3 separate regions of the Homo sapiens genome follow, and all the other regions are linked to region 3. The links are contacts of gene promoters, found by promoter capture Hi-C in blood cells and fetal thymus (Javierre and others, 2016). All regions are on one chromosome and are shown on one strand. Each heading gives the region's core, a stretch centred on a gene start or on the middle of the fragment in contact. The rest is flanking DNA. Distances are from core to core; before and after follow the strand shown.

Region 1 (4,370 bases), core at 686-3,185, 66 kb after region 3:
ATTTAAATATGTTCTAATGGCTCATGCTTTGAATATTGGTCATGCCATATGATGTTCCACATTATTTTTTAGACTTACACCTGTGTGAATCAAATTAATTCAAAATACCTCACTATTTAATTTTAAGATGGAAGGGAAGAATGTGAGCTTTACAGTAACTGACTTAACTCATTCTGTGTTTGTTAATGGTGTTAGCCCTCAAACCTGCTTCAAGGATGCCTAAGAAAAAAAGACTAGAGGCAACAATGATACAATAGAGAACTGTAGAAATAAAGCTTCATCAACCTGTGGCTTTTCTGTGTATCACTGGGGCTCAGTAACTTAGCGGAAAGTTGGCCGTCAACTAACTGCCCATGTATCTTCTTTCCTATTTTGCCTGCCTCAGGACTAACATTTTCCGCACAAAATCCCAAGGCTCTCTATAGCCAAACAATTTACTGGAAATACAGTTTCATGATTGTGGCCTTTGTCACCTGAGAGATACTGCAGAAGGCAGCAAAACATGTTTAATACAGAATTGCTTATTGTCAACTTACAGAACAAATACTGAGAAAAGCACTGAGAAAATGGAGATCTTTTTTAAAAAAAAGAGAATATCTGTAGGTTTAAATTGCTGTGCATTTGAAAAATCTGACTGAAAAGTAACCGAAAACAGTGAGAGAAATCTCATAGTTTGCTATAAAGAGAGTTAATTTAAAAAACTATCCCTATAGCTGATTATACCTGAAGAAGACTGTTCTATTCTCTGTCTGAACTCTTCACAGTTAATAAATGCATTGCTGTTTCCAATTCAATAGAGGCTGGAATTATAAATTATAATTTTATATTTGAAGAACAAAATTTCAGTTCTTCAGTATAAATTAAAATCTTTAAAAAAATTCTTTAGCCTTCACCCTGAGTAGTAAAAAGTGCTATTTCATATATACAGTGCTTGTAAGAACTATACAGTTTATTCAGATAAAACTTTTAAAGAGTTATTTCCTTTCATTGACATAAACTAAAAATAACTGCATTTTTCAACACAGGAGTAAAATAAAGTGTAGGTGCAAAAGAAAGCAAATAAAGAATAAGAGAACTTATTTGGGGAAAAACGGGGAAAATATTTACATCTGACAGCAATTGGGGTTTACAGCAGGCAATGGAACATGTGATATGTAATCTTAGTCAATTAGGAAGGTATCATCTTGCAAAGCTGGGTTTATTTGATAGTGCATATTGCCGACACTCTTTAAGAAGGGATTTAACAGAAGTCTTGGTTGCTTAGCAACAAATGCCCCCTGGGAACAAGTTCATTTTTAGCCAGGTGTTGGTCACCAAGTTTCCCAAGTATTGCTGTGAGTCTTACCTATGAACTTCTCCTAATACATTACATGAGAAGCCGTTACCAGTATATGGCCCTGCACAGGTAAGAGTATAGCACATATTTGGAAAACTGATTCTTGAAAGGTCAATGCCTGCTTTTGAGTAACCATGTTGAGACAGACAAACTACTTGACTTATTTCAGAGTATATGATTAAGTCCTTCAGTGTTTTCCAGTAGTTAACAGCGTGGAAAAATACAGGTTACTTGCTTTACTTGAGTCCTTGTGAACCTTTAAATAACCATGTTGCAGAAGCCCATAGACCCATGAACTCTTGTTAACCTCTGATTGACAGATGAGAGTTTGCCTATTAACATGAAAATCACTATTTGCTGAAGGTATGGTCTACAGATGATGAGTGATGGGTGATGGTCAAAGTGGTGATTATGGATACTTTGAAGAATTAAAATAAACTTATTTTTACACGTGTGAAAACATTAGCCTCTGTGGCTAACCAACACACTAATGAGATGTTGCTGTGTTATTGCCCCAAGCAGACAGAAGAAAGAGTCTGGAGAGGCTTTTGACAATCACCAGGGAAGGTATAAAACGTCCTTAGGCCACAGACACACTGCACAGCGACCACTGAGCATGCCTGCAGGCTCCATGTCTACTACAGGCTATCCTGGGGTCTGCAGTACCACATCATACAGAACTCACTGTTATATCCCAGTGACCTCTTCTGTTACTCTTAGCTCCAGTGATTTAAGCCCTACCTTTGGACACTGCTTACCCAGTAGCTACCAAGGAAATCTCTGGCTCCTGGATTACTGCCAAGAATCCTACGGTGAAGCACCAACCTGCAAATCTCCCAGCTGTGAGCCCAAGACCTGCAGTACCACTGGTTGTGACCCGTCAAACTCCTCTGTGCCCTGCAACTCCCCATCAGCAGGCCAAGTCTTCAGTGTCTGTGAAACTACCAACGTCAGCCCCAGCCCCAGCTGCAGCCCAAGCACCCAGACCAATGGGTATGTATGCAATTGCCACATACCCACTCGAAATGCATCCAAAGCCTGCCAAACCCTCCGCAACGGTTCCAACTGCTTTGGACAACTTAACTGCTTATCCAAGAGTTTCCAAACTCTAAACCACTGCAGATTGAGTACTTTGGGGTATAAAAGCTACCAAAATCCTTGCTTCATACCCAGCTACGTCTCACCATTATGTTATATTTCCAACAGCTGCCAACCCCAAAGCTATTTAGTGAGAAATTATCACTATTCAAGCTACAGGCCTACGAGCTGCCGACCACTGAGCTATTTATCTAGAAGCTTCAGATCTCTGAGCTATATACCCAGTACCTTTCCACCTCTGAGGTATTTGTGCAGTGGTAGCAGACCTCTGAAATGCTATTGACCAACTTCCAGAATTTATAGCAGCTGGAAATTGCCCAATGGGGAAGATTCTACTAAGTACTAGAACGTCTAATTTTCTGCTGAATCTCTTTATTCAGCCTAAGAATCTTGTTACATTAAGTTCAAATACAACTCCCAGGTTTATTAACCACAGCCAGTATCACCTGCTAGGTTTTCTTTTTTCTGTTGTTCTGTTATTGCTCTTTGTACTAAAAGCTGACCCTGAAGGTAACATCATTATTTCTGAGATTTATTACAATGGACTTACCGAAGAGACTCCATTTGAAATACAACCATCACCGGCTTTCTTACTTTGGCTGTCACTGTCACTTGTCTGACAGTGTGATTATCACCTACCTTTCCTGATGAAATGGGGCCTCCATGGTTTGACTGCAGATTCCAGCATGCAAATTCATTCGGATGGCTTTGATTGTCATTAATATTTTTGTCAACTACCTAACTAGCACCTTGCTAATAAGCCGATAGAAAACACTATCTTGAGCATAATAAGTTGAACTATTTCATCCTTTTCTTACTGATTGATTGTAAGAACAGGCAAATAGCAATGGTGACTAGAGCTCAAAAATAGAAGACTTCAGCAAATCTTCTCTTCCAGAGAAGCCATAAAACAAGATTCACTGGTACTCAGCTTTTGTTCTCCATGCCTAAGAAAAAGCCTCAGAATTAGCTAAAGCATGAAAATTATTTGTTGAAAGAAGAACAAATACTGTTAGAGACCCTTTACAATTATGTGTAATCTGCGTTTAGGATTCTCCTATCATCTTGCCTTGCCAATTTATTGCATTCTGACTCTGGAAAATGTCCTAGTTCTTAGTTAATAAACAAATTTCTGTCTGGAAGTAATGGCTTTCCTTATGCTTTATTTCACATTTACTAAAATTTCATCCATATTCTGGGCAATATACATAGCATTGTCAAAATGCTGCTTTCCTGCCATTTAGTTTAGAGTCTAAATTAAAGATACAAAGAAGGGGCCAGATGCGGTGGCTCATGCCTGTAATCCAAGCACTTTGGGAGGCCAAGGCAGGTGTATGACCTAAGGTCAGGAGTTCGAGACCAGCCTGACCAACATGGTGAAACCCCGTCTCTACTAAATACAAAAAAAAATTAGCCGGGCGTGGTGGTATATGCCTGTAATCCCAGCTACTTGGGAAGCTGAGGAGGTAGAATCTCTTGAACCCGGGAGGCGGAGGTTGCAATGAGTCGAGATTGTGCCACTGCACCGCAGCCTGGGTTACAAGAGTGAAACTCAGTCTCAAAAAAAAAAAAAAAAAGTAGAATATGGAATCACAAGCTTCTGACTTGTTTTTTTCTGTTTTTAACATGTTATGTTTATCTCACCTAGAATGTCTACATTAATATTGATATACAGAAATTTGGAAACATAAATCAATTTAATAAAGAGTACATAGAGTATTAAACATACGTTTATTTCTCAGCACAGTATGTGTATTTATTGGTTTTGTAGATAAGGTTTCAGCAGTTAAATAAATTTAATATTGAACCTCCTAGAAGTCATTTAACCTCTGTAAGTTATTACCCAAAAAATGAAAATAAAATCATCTATTTGAGTGGTGAAAACAACATGATAAATACCCTAAGCATTTTTGTAAATAAAAAGCAAATCATATTT
Region 2 (4,428 bases), core at 1,408-3,907, 92 kb before region 3:
ATCAATTAAAATCAAAGATAACCATCTAATAATTCTTGATTTTCTCTTACTCAGTAGTAGGGTTAGATTTTCATTCAGTGGGTCCTCTATAGGGTCTGACATAATAATTGACATTTTGATCAAAGTAAGAAAAACATGAAAAATTCCAAGTTATTATTTATTATTTTACCACTGTTTATCAGTGCTGAGCTTACTTAGGATCAGAATAAATATCATGAAGATGGAAGCTATGCAAATGTACCTCTTAAATCTTCTGCTTCAGGGAGCATTACTGACTGATTGACAGCTACAGCAGTTGGTCTTTGAATCTACCATCACTTCTGTGCCAAGGTTGTGCTGTCATCCATTCTTGTTAGTAAATACTCTTGGCAAGGATGCTAAGGCAGGCCCATTTTGGTGATATGTAAGGCTCCTTTGATGGGTGACTTGCCAAAACTTTCTTAGAATTGCCCTAAAGGAGTTTCTTTTTTTTTCTTATCTTTTCTTTTCTTTTCTTTTTTTTTTTTTGAGACGGAGTCTCGCTCTGTCGCCCAGGCCGGAGTGCAGTGGCACTGTCTTGGCTCACTGCAAGCTCTGCCTCCCGGGTTCACGCCATTCTCCTGCCTCAGCCTCCCGAGTAGCTGGGACTACAGGCACCCGCCACCAGGCCCGGCTAATTTTTTGTATTTTTAGTAGAGACGGGGTTTCACCGTGTTAGCCAGGGTGGTCTCGATCTCCTGACCTCGCGATCCACCCGCCTCGGCCTCCCAAAGCGCTGGGATCACAGGCATGAGCCACCACGCCCGATGGGGAGTTTCTTAAAGAAGTTTCTTCTAGACCAAACTTAGTTCCCTCTGTCCTTCACTGAGGCTAGACATACTCCACAGTAGTATGGCTCTCCCAGACCTCTCCAACTACCTCCCCATTATCTATCACTGGCATTTTCACCAATAAATCTTTTTTATGTTTAATCCCATTTGGCAGCTGCTTTTCAAGGGACTGCAATGGACACAATAGATCAGTAAGATTTGTTATTCTAAAATTAAGTGTAACTTATTTACTCTATTTTCAATAATGGGTTTATATTATTTTCTCTGAGTGTTTTTGAAGTTCTTCTTTGTGTTCCCACTGAATCTTGTCTTCACCCCATTATTCCATTTGCCATATAAGTTATAATTGTATTTGTGGGAACTTCCTGAAGCAGAGAATTTGTGTCTTTGTTCAGCGTAATGCTTGGTATATAATAGGACCTCAATAAATTTTTTTTCAATGAAAGACTAAAACAAAATTTTCTGAAGCAAATATATAAAAAATGCACTTATGAGGGGATTTAAATCTCTTAAAACATGTGATAGGTTATATATTTAAATTTTCTTTGCACTTTGTTTTCTATTCAACAAAATATCAATAAAACATATGAAACAAACAAAAAGTGTACCTAAGGAAGACAGTTGAAGATATGGGATGAATTCACTAAATGTATCATTTTTACTTATTTATTTATTTATTTTTTGACACAGAGTCCCACTTTGTTGCCCAGGCTGGAGTGTAGTGGCATGATCTCAGCTGACTACAACCTCCGTCTCTCAGATTCAAGTGATTCGCCTGCCTCAGCCTCCTGAGTAGCTGGGATTATAGGTGCACACCAGGCCTTGCTAATTTTTGTATTTTTAGTAGAAATGGGTTTTCACTGTGTTGGCCAGGATGGCCTCAAACTCTTGACCTAAAGTGATCCGCCAGCCTCAGTCTCCCAAAGTGCTGGGATTACAGGTGTGAGCCATCATGCCCAGCCTAAGTGTATTGTATTAACAAAATAAAATGGAATGCCAGAATTCATGCCAAAGAAATAAGCTTATTTAAAATATTGTAACTATTTGAAATATATTTGAGTGGAAGAGTTCTGGGAAAATAATGAGAGAAGGATTTTAGAAAGATGATAACAGAAATGATCCTGAGCATTGGCACAAAAATTGAAATTCAAGATATATCTCCTGTCAGATTTAGGAAGGGTCCTAGGTCAAGATTAATTTGTCCGTGTTCAATCATATACTTCCAAGAGGGCTAGGATGCTGAGTCCTACTGATGTAGATGGTCAACAATCACAGATATTGGACAGGCTGAGTGTTGCAGTTCCATAGAGTACAGAAATAATCATGAGAGAATGGAGAATATTCAGTAAGATGATCCAAAAAGGCGAGACCCAAAGGCTGGTTAGTAACAAGTTGCCTGGAAATTCCTGGATGAAAAGGTAGTTGGGTGGTAGAAGCTGGACCCACAGTCCAGAGATTGGAAGCCAGTGCTTCCACAACCAAGAGATCCAAGGCCAGTGTTTCCACATCCAAGGGATCTTATGTAGTTAGTCTGGCGGGGACTGCAGAAGATGGAATTCTTTGGGCAGTAACAGGATGTCTGATAGGATCTGGCCAAAGTGCAGGATGTCTGGCAGCTGGTGGGCTCACAGTAGGTCTCCTGACAGCCATTGTAGAGAGAGGAGCCCAGTTGGCAGGTATTTGGAGAATAGATGGCATTGCTGGGGTAGAACAAATTATAAGTGGAAACTGGATACCTCAGGTAACTTCCAAAACAGCAGGAGGAGAAGTTTCCAGAGCTGCAGTTGTAAGACATGTTAACAGGAGTTCTGAGCTCAGGTGATTTGCAGTGAGGAGCGTGTGTGTGTGAATGTTACCTTCTATACTGGACACTGACATACTCTAGCAATAGGTGTAGTCACAAGTGCCCATTCTAATGAGAACACTTAATTAGGCTGCAGTCAAAATGAAATATATTAACACTCAAAGAATTTTATTTATGAACGTAGACTTCTACATGAAAGAATTTCATTAGTTTTTCAAAGCAATTGTTCATGAAACAAAAATGCCATTTCTCATTCATCTTGCTTAGGTAGAATGAAAACCACCATAATTGTACCTATAAGACTGATGCTTCAAAGGGTCGGGCGCGGAGGCTCACACTTGTAATTCCAGCACTTTGGGAGGCTGAGGCAGGCATATCACGAGGTCAGGAGTTCCAGACCAGCCTGACCAACATGGTGAAACTCCGTCTCTACTAAAAATACAAAAATTAGCCGGGCATGGTGGTGGGCGGCTGTAATCCCAGCTACTCAGGAGGCTGAGGCAGGAGAATTGCTTGAACCCGGGAGGCGGAGTTTGCAGTGAGCCGAGATCGTACCACTGCACTCCAGCCTGGGAGACAGAGCAAGATTCCATCTCCAAAACAAACAAACAAACAAAGAAACAAAAAAACAAAGAAAAAAACTTGATGCTTCATTCATCCTGTCCTTCTAGAAATTGGATCAAACGGCTAAGACACTGAGAGTTCTGGTATTTGTAAAGATCTGAAAAATACCTTGTAATCTGGAAGGGACTTTGATCTTGCTCCAATTTTATAAATTCAATTGAGAACAGAAAAAAAATTTCAATATCTATTCCTTCTTTCAATTCTTTGAACCATTAGAAGAAATAACCCAATAACAATCCTTATTTGGTAGACATGCTAAATGAGTGCCTAACATATTTAAGTTTAGATTTCTTATAACACAAGTAGCTAAGTCACTCTTGTGCACATGAAGAGTTAAGAATGAAGGGTGAAATTTTTGAACAAGTGCTTTGAAGTTTACATTGTAAAACTACTAAAGAAATCCCTTACTCAAAGGTTGATTTGCTTCTTCATAGAAGTCATCAATAAGTTTGATTATAAAAAACCGTTTATCCCCATAAGGTATAAGTAATTTTTGGTCATGTTGATGTTACTGAGAGGAAAATAATAAGCACTATAAGTAAAATGTAAATCGTTAATCTTTTCCTTTCTTTTCTCTCAGAGGGTGACATTTTTACCAGAGAGGGAAAAGAAAAGCAAGAAATGAGGGAAATGTCTATCCCATGTAGTATTCACAGAAAGATAAAATATGTAAAGAATTCATAGTAACAAATGACTTTATAAATTGAAATAAAGGGGTGGGAAGGATACATGATGATAATGTGTAATTGAGAGTGAATGCCTTTGTGACCTCTGATGTATCAGCTGACATATATATTCTGCCTAGAGTACTAGAGTAATGAGGATTTTTCTGGATTCGCTCAGAAAGTTCATCAGAGCAAACTGTAAATAGATATATGGCACGGATGCAGGAAATGCCTTAACCTGTGGGAATGGGCAAACCTCTTAAGACATCCATCTTCAGAACTGATGTATTCTACAATGGAAGTGAACTGAGACTCCCTTCTATGAAGAATCAGGATTACTAGGTAAAAGTTTTAGGGGAAGATTCAGCTAAAAATCTAAAATGAGTTGCTCTTGCAATTAATGATATTTCCATACTGAGGGCCCTGGGAAAATCTAATTAGGATGTTGTAAGTGGAATTCCAATCTGACAGGAGGCTGGAGATAATTGCTCAACTTCCTTCCAAATTGTAGACTTTATAAGTCTAA
Region 3 (4,369 bases), core at 998-3,497:
CCCACAAAACTTCTGTGCATTGCGTTCTTCGTTCTTCTCACATATGTAATTTCCCTGCAAGCTGAAATATTATTCATCCTGCATGAGCCATTTCAAAGTACATCCCTTGCAAATCCTCCACAGTGTGTGTGTGTGTGAACTAGATTACAAAATACTGAGATCTTTGTTCCTGAAGAGCTAAGTCTAGTTGAGATGAACACCTATCTGATAGGAGGAGTTTGATTTTGGCATTGAGGGATGAGAAGTGTCAACCTAAAAAGAAACTCACATATGCTCTTCAGAACAAATGAGTTTTAATTGGAAAGAGCAGCGAAGTGCAATCTAGGAATGTGCATGCTATGGTGGATGATGGATCATAGGCACATCCAAGGGGTTAGGGCACAGGAGAAGTTTTTAAATACAAAGAGAGGTCCAGGTAAGCTGCTTTGAGACAAGTTCACGGGTCAAAAGCTCATTGTAGGAGTTGACATTTGTTTATTGGTAAAGACAGCTGTTGCTAGGTAACTGTCCTGGAACCTATTTATCTGGAATAGTGCAATTTGAAGAAGGTCTTGTGATAACCCTTGTTACAGGCATGTGTGCACGAGGATTTTTTTTGTGGCCTCTCTTGACCCCATTTTGTTAGAGTTTGACATAAATGACTCCATTTTGGTACATCTTTCACAAAGGGATTTGGTGCAATGTGAGCAATGCATTTGGTAGAAATTTGTTAGCAAAACAATGGACAAAATATTCCATTGTTGCCAGATAAGCAAATATTACAGGAGATTACAAAAAACAATCATCTATGAAACAGTTTGAAAAGATCAAATTACATAAATAGCTTTTTGCTTTCCAATTTCTAAAAGATGCTTGAAGGCAGAAGTTGGATATGATAACAAGTGGGGAAAAAGACATTTCTAATTCCAAGATTTTTCTTTATACCACTGATGTTTTATAGTGGTAAAGATAATTTTAACCACTTAATATAATGGTAAATTTTATGCTGCTTTGTCTTCCTAGAAGGATGAACAAGAGAAGCTCAGCAAGGAGTGAAATGAATCACTCTGGAAGGTGTCGTATTTCTCACTCCCAACTGAGTTGGCAAAAGGTCGGCACCCTATTAAAATTCAAGCTTCTGCAAATGTATTTTATTGGTAGTCAACTCACTAAAGGCATATCAGTTTTTCGCAACTAGTCCCAGTGAAAGTCTGTGTTTGCCAAAGAATTTTCTGCCTCACACTGAAAAAGAATCTAATAACTCCATGGTGGATAAAACATGAGTTGCTTAACTAGGATAAACTGAGTGAGAGGGCAAATAGAAGATAATTTGTAACAAAGCATCTCCATAGTAACTCTGAATACTAAAAAAATAACCAAAATCAATTAAGAAGCTGTCCCCTCAGTTGGCTATATTTGGGGAATTCATAAAAGGGGTAAGAATACTCAAGTAGATATATCAGATGAAATGCAAATATTAACACCTTGGAATTTTTTTTTCACCTGCATACTCAATTGTCCATGTGATTCTGGGAGCAGAAATTACAAGCTTCACAAATTGTCTATATAGCTCTGTGGTTTGTGCTAGCCTTAAAGACAGACACACCTGGGATGACATGGGGTCCATGATTTGTTTGATTTATTACCTGAATGTTACATAACTTTTCCAAACCTCCATGGCCTTACTTCTAAATTGTTTATGACAACTTGTATCTCATAAGATATTTGCAAAGATTAAATCATACCACACTTTTAAATGTTGCGCATGTAGTTAATGCTTAATAAAACATATGTAAATAATGGGGGGTGGGTGGCTGCTGATTACTGTTGGGAGTACATTGCTGGTAAGAATTTGTAGGCTGAAGCTCAGAATACCCACAGTCAAGCTCAGTAAAAGGGGTGGGGAGGCACTGTATGTATCATCACCAATGTTTCTGAAAGCAAACCAAACCTTATTTCTGCAGAGAGAGAGAGAGAGAGAGAGAGAGAGAAAGAGACAGAGAGAGAGAGAGAGAGAAGCCAATGGGCTTCTATAAACTGGAATGATTACACTGCTGTTAAAGACAAATGAATGTGTTGAGTTATAATTATAACCTAGGTTACTTAGTCATTTGATGAAAACACATTCACAAGAATGGGGGGGTTCCCGGATACTGCATCACGCCCAGCAGTGTGAGGGTGTAAACATCACTGGATCATTGGGCACAGGCAGGGACATCAGGGCATCTTCTCAATGCAGCTCAGCTGAACTCACATCTCCTGTCAACATGTCCTACAACTGCTGCTGTGGAAACTTCTCCTCCCATTCCTGTGAGGGCTACCTGTGCTACTCAGGCTACTCCCGTGGTGGCTCCTCGTACCCCAGCAACCTGGTCTACAGCACTGAACCTTTGATCTCCCAGCACCTGCCAGCTGGGTTCCTCTCTCTGCAAGGGCTTTCAGGAGACTTGCTGGGAAACCCCTAGCTGCCAGATGTCCTGTGTGGAGTCCAGCCCCTGCCAGACCTCCTGCTACCGCCCCAGAAGCTCCGTGCTCTGCAGTCCCTGCCAGTCGACTTACTCTGAGTCTCTAGGCTTTGGATCCAGCAGCTGCCGCTCCCTGGGCTATGGATCTAGGAGCTGCTACTCAGTGGGCCGTGGGTCCAGTGGCGTCAGATCCCTGGGTTATGGAGGCTGTGGCTTCCCTTCCCTGGGCTATGGATCTGGATTCTGCCACCCAACATATGTTCTCTTTAGGACATTCCAGTCTTCCTGTTACAGACCAACTTGTGGATCTGGCTTCTACCGATCAACTTGCTAAGGGCTCCAAACCTCCACATTACAATTATTTCTCTCAAAGTCCATCTCAGCTATCATCTGGCTAGAACCTATATTCTACTATCCAGAAAAGATAATTGTTTTAAACTTATTAATATTAAAATAACATTTCTCATAGAATACTCATCTCTTTTTCTTCTGTTTTCTTGTATTTTCCCTTCCTTCTCTAGTTAAAAATGGAGCAAGAGTTGATTTCTTTTTCTTCAAATAAACTCATTTAATCTGATATCAGATCACAAATCTTGTGTTAATTTTCTTTATAAGATGTCTGTCGGGAATTTGAAACCCCCACTTTTTGTCTAAAAATAAAATATTCACTTTGAGGGAAAGGAGTAGGTTCCTTGATAGGCAGAGTTTTCTAACAACAGAGATCTAGTTCCTGGGAATTTCTGCCAAGTAGACTCAGAGATAGGACAGGAGATTATCTCTGTTTTTCTATTCATGGCCATTTAGGCCTAATCAGGACACTTCACTTTGGTTAAGCTACTCATGGGTCTAGTCTAGGAAGAAAATATCCAGAGACAGCAGTGATGTTTTAGCAAGTACTAGCCTGGCTGTTTTTATGAGAACATTATCAAAATCCTTCCTGTAATCTTCCTTCCCAGACATATATAAGCCACAATGAAATTCTGAGGTCAGGATTTTAACTGAGTTCAGTAGCAAGTGTAATGAAACAAATAGTTTAGGTATACATGAAATTAAAGATGTATGCATTCCACTATAATAAGAAGAATATAATATCTAAGAGTTTTTTTTTTTTTAATTTGATGGTTCACTCCCTCCTCCTTTCATTAGGTCACTATAAAGCCATCCGGTGTTATAATAGAAGTCACCTGAAAACTGTCTGAAACCTGGCAGTATCATGCATAGGTGACACGGACTGAGAGATAAGACTTTACCTCTTGATATCCTGGGCTTGTATCTGGATGCAAAACTAGACAGTCCATTATATTCTTACATTAAGTGGAACACAGTCATATACATTTTCAAATATCTAAATGGAGGTGGGTAGCTCATCGTTCACTGCTCTCACAGCTGTTTTCCTTCTCGCTCTTCTTTCTATGGAAATTGGATTTTGTTTGTGCATCCCTCCTCGTCCACACATAGTCCTGCAAATGAACGTGATTATGCCTTAGGCTTAAGGATTGAATTTGGCTACTCTAGAGCGCCCCAATGCCTACTGAAAGTGATTGGCTCAGGAATGAGCATGTGATCTGAGGTAAGCCAATGAGAAACAAGGAGCCATGTGGAACAATGCTTCTGGTAAAGTTCCTTCTCTGGGGTTTCTTTCTTTTTTTTTTTTTTTTTCTGAGATGGAGTCTTGCTCTGTCACCCAGACTAGAGTGCAGTGGCGCAATCTCGGCTCACTGCAAGCCCCGCCTTCTGGGTTCACGCCATTCTCCTGCCTCAGCCTCACGAGTAGCTGGGACTACAGGCGCCTGCCACCATGCCTGGCTCATTTTTTGTATTTTTAGTAGAGACGGGGTTTCACCGTGTTAGCCAGGATGGTCTCGATCTCCTGACCTCGCAATCTGCCCACCTCGGCCTCCCAAAGTGTCTCTGGGATTTCTTAA

What was found. The method cuts DNA at HindIII sites, captures the fragments that hold promoters and counts their contacts. A CHiCAGO score of 5 or more calls a contact.
Region 1: a contact is called between the fragment with the promoter of KRTAP24-1 here and the fragment with the promoter of KRTAP23-1 in region 3, in 2 of 17 cell types (neutrophils and naive B cells). The highest score is 7.4, in neutrophils.
Region 2: a contact is called between the fragment with the promoter of KRTAP15-1 here and the fragment with the promoter of KRTAP23-1 in region 3, in 3 of 17 cell types (neutrophils, total B cells and naive B cells). The highest score is 7.1, in neutrophils.

What each region holds. Positions count from the first base shown.
Region 1 is chr21:30,280,515-30,284,884 of GRCh38, reverse strand. It overlaps KRTAP24-1 (keratin associated protein 24-1), which reads left to right and starts at 1,935. Exons shown (of 1, transcript NM_001085455.3): 1 at 1,935-3,576. The coding sequence starts at 1,953. The coding sequence ends at 2,717. The HindIII fragment of the contact is 2,357 bases long and covers 278-2,634 here.
Region 2 is chr21:30,438,504-30,442,931 of GRCh38, reverse strand. KRTAP15-1 (keratin associated protein 15-1) reads right to left here and starts at 2,657. Exons shown (of 1, transcript NM_181623.3): 1 at 2,063-2,657. The coding sequence starts at 2,604. The coding sequence ends at 2,191. The region is part of intron 3 of LOC105372772 (a long non-coding RNA gene); the gene reads left to right. The HindIII fragment of the contact is 9,658 bases long and covers 1,833-4,428 here.
Region 3 is chr21:30,346,484-30,350,852 of GRCh38, reverse strand. KRTAP23-1 (keratin associated protein 23-1) reads left to right here and starts at 2,247. Exons shown (of 1, transcript NM_181624.1): 1 at 2,247-2,454. The coding sequence starts at 2,247. The coding sequence ends at 2,444. The HindIII fragment of the contact is 4,066 bases long and covers 1,531-4,369 here.